Regions from separate parts of the Homo sapiens genome. Here region 2 is linked to region 1. The links are contacts of gene promoters, found by promoter capture Hi-C in blood cells and fetal thymus (Javierre and others, 2016). All regions are on one chromosome and are shown on one strand. The core of a region is centred on a gene start or on the middle of the fragment in contact, and the rest is flanking DNA. Distances in the headings are between cores, read along the strand shown. Region 1 holds the start of BUB1B (BUB1 mitotic checkpoint serine/threonine kinase B). Region 2 has its middle 6.4 kb from the start of BMF.

Region 1 (3,314 bases), core at 489-2,988:
GAGTTTATGGGGAATCCGACTAGGTTATAGGAAAGACTGAGATCAAAAGACCAAACACTACGTTTCCAAGATTGTTTGTAGGAAATAGTCAAAATTGAGAAGCTGTAGATATGAACAGGACACCCTGTTGAAAGAAAATGAAGTGCTAGGCCAGTACTGACATAAGGTAAGAGATAAAATGAGCCAGTGAGAGAATCCCACGCACCACACCTCATATGATCCAGGAAAGCTTCCTGGATGTGGAGGACTTTGATGTAAAGAGTAACCAAAATTTCCTATGAGGAATCACCCCTTCCCCTCTCTCAGTCCCAAGGTGAAACACATGACTTGGTTCTGAACAATCAAAGCCCTGAATCCACTATCCCCAGTGACTGTTTGGGAGGAAGGGGTTAAGCAGGGTGACTCCTAAGTCTGAATTTGAACCTGTAAGGATAAAGTCGTGAATCTGTTACCCAATGGAGAATGACAATAAGCCAACAACAAGAGTAGAGGCGAGAAATGGAGAGAGGCCCAGTCCACATGAGTCCTGGGTTAAGCTTTATCTGAAGTCTTTTATATATAAAAGACAGTAAATTCCCTTTTCTGAGTAGGCCGATTTAAGTTGGATTTCTACTTCTTTGGAATCAAGAGTCCTGATGATTCAGAGGAAAGAAGGACTTATATAACATGAACAAAGACAGAAAGCTGGGAACTAAGAACCAGAGGGTAGTGGACAGTATCCTCAGCATCTGCCTCTGGGAAGTGCCACCTCTCTGACCATCCCCACAGTCATAAAGGAGAACTCCCCTGTACCTGGGCTTTCTTAAATGACCCTGTTCCTTCCTCAAGGTGGCTAATGCCTGTAATCGCAGCTACTGCGGAGGCTGAGGTGGGAGGATCACTTGACCCCGGGAGTTGGAGGCTGGAATGCAGTAGCCCCATGATGGGGCTACTGCACTCCAGCCTGGGCAACAGAGCAAGAAGAAGACCCTGTCTCTAAAACAAAACCAACCAACCAAACAAACAAAAAGACTCTACTCCCCTGGTCACATCTGAGCTATCACAATTTCTTCCTCAGAAAATTGAAATTGCAACAAACAGTTTAATGTCAGTCAAGGCTAGTCCCCTGAAGGGGAAAAGAGGTAACACCTTGGGAACCATAGCATGGCTGTGTTTACTGCTTGTGGACTGAGCAGAAGAGAAAGCAAGACAGTATCATCACTTTATAGATGAGGAAAACTGATGGTCAGAAAGATTATGTAGCTTGCCTAAGGTTGCACATTTGGTATGATTTTACAGAACTAGAATCCAGCTTTTTGAATTCAAGGGTGGGGCAGGAAACAGCTAGGTCAGTGGCCTAAGAACTCCGGACGGGTGAGATTTGGGGCAGACAGCAGGGGTAGTCACCCTACAAGAGTCACGCCAAGTGCAAGCACTCAGAGACATCTCCCAACACTCAAAACAGCAAAGAAGTTCTGGTGCTTTAAGTGTTCCTCGCTCGGCTCAGAGACTCGGCTTCGAGCCGCGACTCAAGACAGCACCTGGGGGTATTTGTTTTGCCTAAGCCTGCTGCACTTCCACGGCCATTGAATCCCAAAAACTACAATTCCCATTATGCACCGCGAGTTCGCGGACTAAACAGGCATAAACTACAAGCCCCAGAATGCCTTGGGCGAGACGCGAGAGCACGGAGGAGCGGAGGGGCGTGGCCACGTCGACCGCGCGGGACCGTTAAATTTGAAACTTGGCGGCTAGGGGTGTGGGCTTGAGGTGGCCGGTTTGTTAGGGAGTCGTGTACGTGCCTTGGTCGCTTCTGTAGCTCCGAGGGCAGGTTGCGGAAGAAAGCCCAGGCGGTCTGTGGCCCAGAGGAAAGGCCTGCAGCAGGACGAGGACCTGAGCCAGGAATGCAGGATGGCGGCGGTGAAGAAGGAAGGGGGTGCTCTGAGGTAGGTACGGGAGAAAGCTGCTGGGGGCTGGGCCTGAGAGGACACGGCCTGGTAGGTAATAGAAGGCTCCGCTCGGAGCAGTCGAGGGGGAGATCGGCACCGTCAGAACAGACCCCACCGGAGCCTCCTTCCTTTTGGAGTAGAATGCCGGAGGTGGAGGTGAAAACGCAGTGGACTGAGGGCACGTGCGAATCCTGCCGCATCCAGCTTCAAAGCGAAGAAGGCTGCGGGACCCCAGCGGAACAAAGAGTTTGGAAGTTGCAATGTTGTCTGTTTGTAACTCAGCTCAGCCACCTGCTAGTTGTTTGACCTTGGGCAAATCGTTTGTATGGAAAATGCTGATGTTAATGCTGCCTTACGTGGTTCTGGGGGAATTCAAAGTATTTGTTAAGTAACTGCTTCCAAATAAGCGCTCAACAAATGGCAGGTGCTATGCCAATAGCACAGAGATCTGAAAGCCTTTAGCCAATATCATAGAGATCTAAATTATGCCAATAACATAGAGATCTAAAAGCCTTTTTCTGCATGTTTGCGGCTTTTCCTTGTATTAAAAAAACTATATTGCAGTTCTAGGTTGGAAATCTGTATGTGTTTTCACTGTGGTGCCCGCAATACCTAGATAAGTGCTATGTCATGGGCTCTTTCATTCATGTAACAAGTATTTTTTTGGCTAAGCTCTGAGTGCAGCAAATATACAGACACAAAAATCTCAACCCTCATGAAGCTTAAGTTCTGGCATGGGATGAAGGTGGGGGAGTCAGACAATAAAGACAAACTGTTAGGTGGAGATGTGGTCAGTACTAAAAAAAATAATAAAGCAACTGGGTGTAGTGAATATTGGGGGTGGGGATTGGTGCAATTTAACTTGAACACTGGAGTCTCACTGAGGAGATGTCACTTTGGTCAAGACTTGAAGGAATCTCAAAAGCTAGAGGTTCTATATCTGAGGAGAGTACAAAGGCTGAGGGTGAGAGCTAGGGGAGGAAGTTGCACCTGGCATGTCCAAGGCCATTGTCACTGGAGCAGAATTAACTAGAAGAGTAAAAGGATATTATGTAAAAATGGTGAAGATGCAGATTGTAAGGACTTAGCTTTTACTCTAGTTGTAATCAAAAGTCATTGGAAGGTTTTGAGCAAAGGAAAGACATAATCTGACTTGGGTTTAAATGGGGTCACTTTGGCTGTAGTGTTGAATACACTAAAGGCAGCAAAGGATGGAAGCAAGGGACACCAGTTAAGAGGTTATTGAAATAATTCAGCTCAAAAGTGAGTTGAGCCAGGTGGAAAACAGTGGAGATGATGATAAGTGGTTGATTTCTGTATATATTTTGAAGGTAGAACCAGTAGGACTTGCTGACTGACTGAGGGGTATGAGAAGGGCATCAAAGT
Region 2 (3,314 bases), core at 815-3,314, 45 kb before region 1:
GAGATGGGGGTCCGCCTGTGTTGCCCAGGCTAATTTCAAACTCCTGACCTCAAGCGATCCTCCCACCTCAGCCTCTTGAGTAGCTGGGATTACAGGTGCAAGCCACTGCACCCAGCTTATCTGACTGAGTTTCTTCTCACCAGCGAGATGATCCTCCAAGAAGACAAGGGTGATGCCATCTACTCCTTGATACCCTCCGACTGCTCTGCTCCAGGCTTGGCACATGAGTCACTCACTAAGTCTTTGGAGACAAATTTACTGGAAAAACTATGAGCCAGGCCCTCAGGGCAGTATCCTCAGCTCCCCTCTCCTCAACCCAGTGTGCAGCCCGTGGAAAAGAAGTTAGCTTTATCCTGCCAAGGAATGAAGAAATCCAACAGAAATACACTTTCTTTAACTCTACTTCTCCCAGGATGTCAGCCTTTTTCCTGGTCAAATGTACATCACTACAACAGTACACACTTCTTTTTGGGATTGGCAGGGAAATCTCAGAAATTTCTAGCTGAGGCCAGATTTATTGCTATCAAGGAAACCTGCCACCCAGAAGAGCTGGGGACCAGTCCCTTCCCGGCTTCAAGTGTCCCAGGTTTTGAACTTGGTGTTCAAGATGATCTGGGCTGAGAAGTGAGTTAGATCAGCTGTTTTTCAGCCAACTCCTTAGTCCCCACTGTCCTGGAGGGGAACAGGGTCTCTCTCTGGAAGGGGCTTCATGAGACAGGGGTTCAATCCCTCAGGTGTGAGTTTATCAGACATTTACTGAGCACTTGCCATATGTTAGGCTCCACGCCAGCAGCTGGAGGTACAGACACAATCCCCTTGGGGATCATTGAACACATCAGAACCCTTTTTTCTCAAACATGAACTTGCATATACACACCTATACACATGCTCAAAGAGACACTGAGGATTAGAGGAGGGTATAGCAAGAAGAGCTGGAACTAAACAAGCTAAGGAAAAACAGCCTTCTCCCAAATGGTCTTGCCTTTCCTCGCATAGAAGCATCTGGAAATGTCTGAAGCCCCATTTCCCTGCTCTCAAAGCCCACCTGTTATCAGGTGGAGTAGACAGAGCTCTGGGCTAGTGTGGCCAGGTGCAGTAGCTCATGTCTATTTATCCCAGCACTTTGGGAAGCCAAGCCAGGAAGATTATTTGATGCCAGGGGAATCACTTAAGACCAGCCTAGGCAACATAGTGAGACCCTTTCTCTACAAAACATTTAAAAATTAGCTAGACATGGTGGTGCACGCCTATGGTTCTAGCTACTTGGGAGGCTGAGACAGGAGAATCACTTGAGCCTAGGAGTTGGGGGATACGATTGCACCACTGCACTCCAGGGTGAGTGACAGAGTGAGACCCTGTCTCTTAAAAAACAAAAAACAAAAACAAACAAACAAAAAAACAGAAAGAGCTCTAGGCTAGATGTCAGGAGATCTGGATTCAGCTCCCAGCTCTGCTACCACAGGTGATCTTTTCCAACATGCATTTATATGCCCTTATGGATTCAGAGGTGGCATAACTCGGGTAAATAGTCTGGCTTAGCAGGGATTAGAATTTAGGGCTGACGGGCCGGGCATGGTGGCTCACGCCTATAATCCCAGCACTTTGGGAGGCCGAGGTGGATGGATTACCTGAGGTCGGGAGTTCGAGACCAGCCTGACTGGAGATGGAGAAACCCCATCTTCTACTAAAAATACAAAATTAGCTGGGCGTGGTGGCACATGCCTATAATCCCAGCAACTCGGGTGGCTGCGGCAGGAGAATCGCTTGAACCTGGGAGGCGGCGGTTGCGGTGAGCTGAGATCATGCCATTGCACTCCAGCCTGGGCAACAAGAGCAAAACTCCATCTCAAAAAAAAAAAAAAAAAAAAAGAGAATTTGGGGCTGACACCCACCTCTTAGCGCAATCCTGCCCAGGTCCCTGGGCTGTAATGAAAACAACTCCCACCTGCTGAGCATTTACTATGTGCCAGACATGTTGTGTCAAACAGTGTCTCATTCAGGCTTTAACAACCTCAAGATAGACCTATTACCATCAGCCGTGTTTTACACTTAAGAAAACTAAGTTTACTTCTCCGAGTATGGGCCCACAGCAACAGAAGCACAGTCTGAAGCCACCCTGGCATGAAAGCCAGTGCTAACATCCCATACCTCTACTGCCTTTAGGCACACTCAGTCCCTCCCCACAGACAGGATTCACTCCCCTTCCCCCATCAATAACACACTGACCCCGGCTGCCCCCTGAACAGGAAGGCCAAGCCTGAGGCAGCCTAGCGAGGTACATTCCAGCTCTCTCAGTTGCAAACACTCCCACTGCCACCACCACCTGTGGCAGAAGCGATTGCATCACCCGCAGGAAGCGGTCCAGCGGCCCAGCATCAGCTCTAAGGCACATTTTCGGTTCCTACTTCTATCCTTGACTACATTCAACAGGCTGCCCTGTCTTCCAGCCCCTGCCCTGGCCCTGTAGCTTTAGGCTAATGTGATGACTGGACATGGGACTGCAGTCTGCTACTTAGATGAGATTTGTACAGGTCCATTTTCTCATCACTGCCGGGTGGGTGAGGGGGGTCCGGCTAAAGGGGGCTTCTCAGCTAAGGACCATTCGGAGATCCTGTGGGCTCAGAGAAAAGTCCTCTCGGATGCAGGAGACAAGCAAGGGAGGGGAGTCCCAGGCAGGTACCATAACCTTATCGCTACCTTTCAATGACGTGGGCCAGCGAGAAGAAGGCCCTCAAGAGCCTGCCAACACAGCCAGGATGTCTCTGATGTGGGGGTCTCAGCCCATCCGACTGGCAGACATGCTACACTGGGCTTTGCTTTCCTCCCTCTATTATTATTTTTTTTCTTGAAACAGGGTCTCACTTTGTTACCCAGGCTGGAGTGCAGTGGTGGCACAGTCTTGGCTCACTGCAACCTCGGCCTCCTGGGTTCAAGTGATCCTCCCGCCTCAGCCTCCCCAGTAGCTGGGATTACAAGTGTGAGCCACCATGCCTGGCTAATTTTTGCATTTTTAGCAGAGACGGAGTTTCGCCATATTACCCAGGCTGGTCTCGAACTCCTGACCTCAGGTGATCCGCCCCTTCTGCCTCCCAAAGTGCTGGGATTACAGGCGTGAGCCACCACGCCTAGCCACTTTCCTCCCTCTATTGCCATGGAATCTTCTGGAACTGAGGAGAGATCCTTGTCCCTGTAGTTTCTCTTCTGCCTGTCCTGGATGTTCTTTCCCTCTCTGCCAACTTCTGTCTCCCTCCTCCTCACGTAGCACTCTTTCTTTATCTCTTCATCTCTCTTCCTACGGTGGTTTCTTCCTGCAT

The links. Contacts are between HindIII fragments. The CHiCAGO score rates a contact against its expected background, and 5 or more counts as called.
Region 2: a fragment that was not itself captured here is called in contact with the fragment with the promoter of BUB1B in region 1 in 3 of 17 cell types (M0 macrophages, naive B cells and total B cells); the score reaches 5.9 in M0 macrophages.

The regions. Positions count from the first base shown.
Region 1 is chr15:40,159,331-40,162,644 of GRCh38, forward strand. BUB1B (BUB1 mitotic checkpoint serine/threonine kinase B) reads left to right here and starts at 1,739. Exons shown (of 23, transcript NM_001211.6): 1 at 1,739-1,925. The coding sequence starts at 1,891. RefSeq lists enhancers at 1,873-1,972, 1,993-2,122, 2,130-2,894. The HindIII fragment of the contact is 2,113 bases long and covers 535-2,647 here.
Region 2 is chr15:40,113,614-40,116,927 of GRCh38, forward strand. No RefSeq gene overlaps it. Among named protein-coding and RNA genes, the nearest start is that of BMF, 6.4 kb to the left of the region's middle. RefSeq lists enhancers at 2,314-2,373, 2,699-3,202. The HindIII fragment of the contact is 4,689 bases long and covers 1-3,314 here.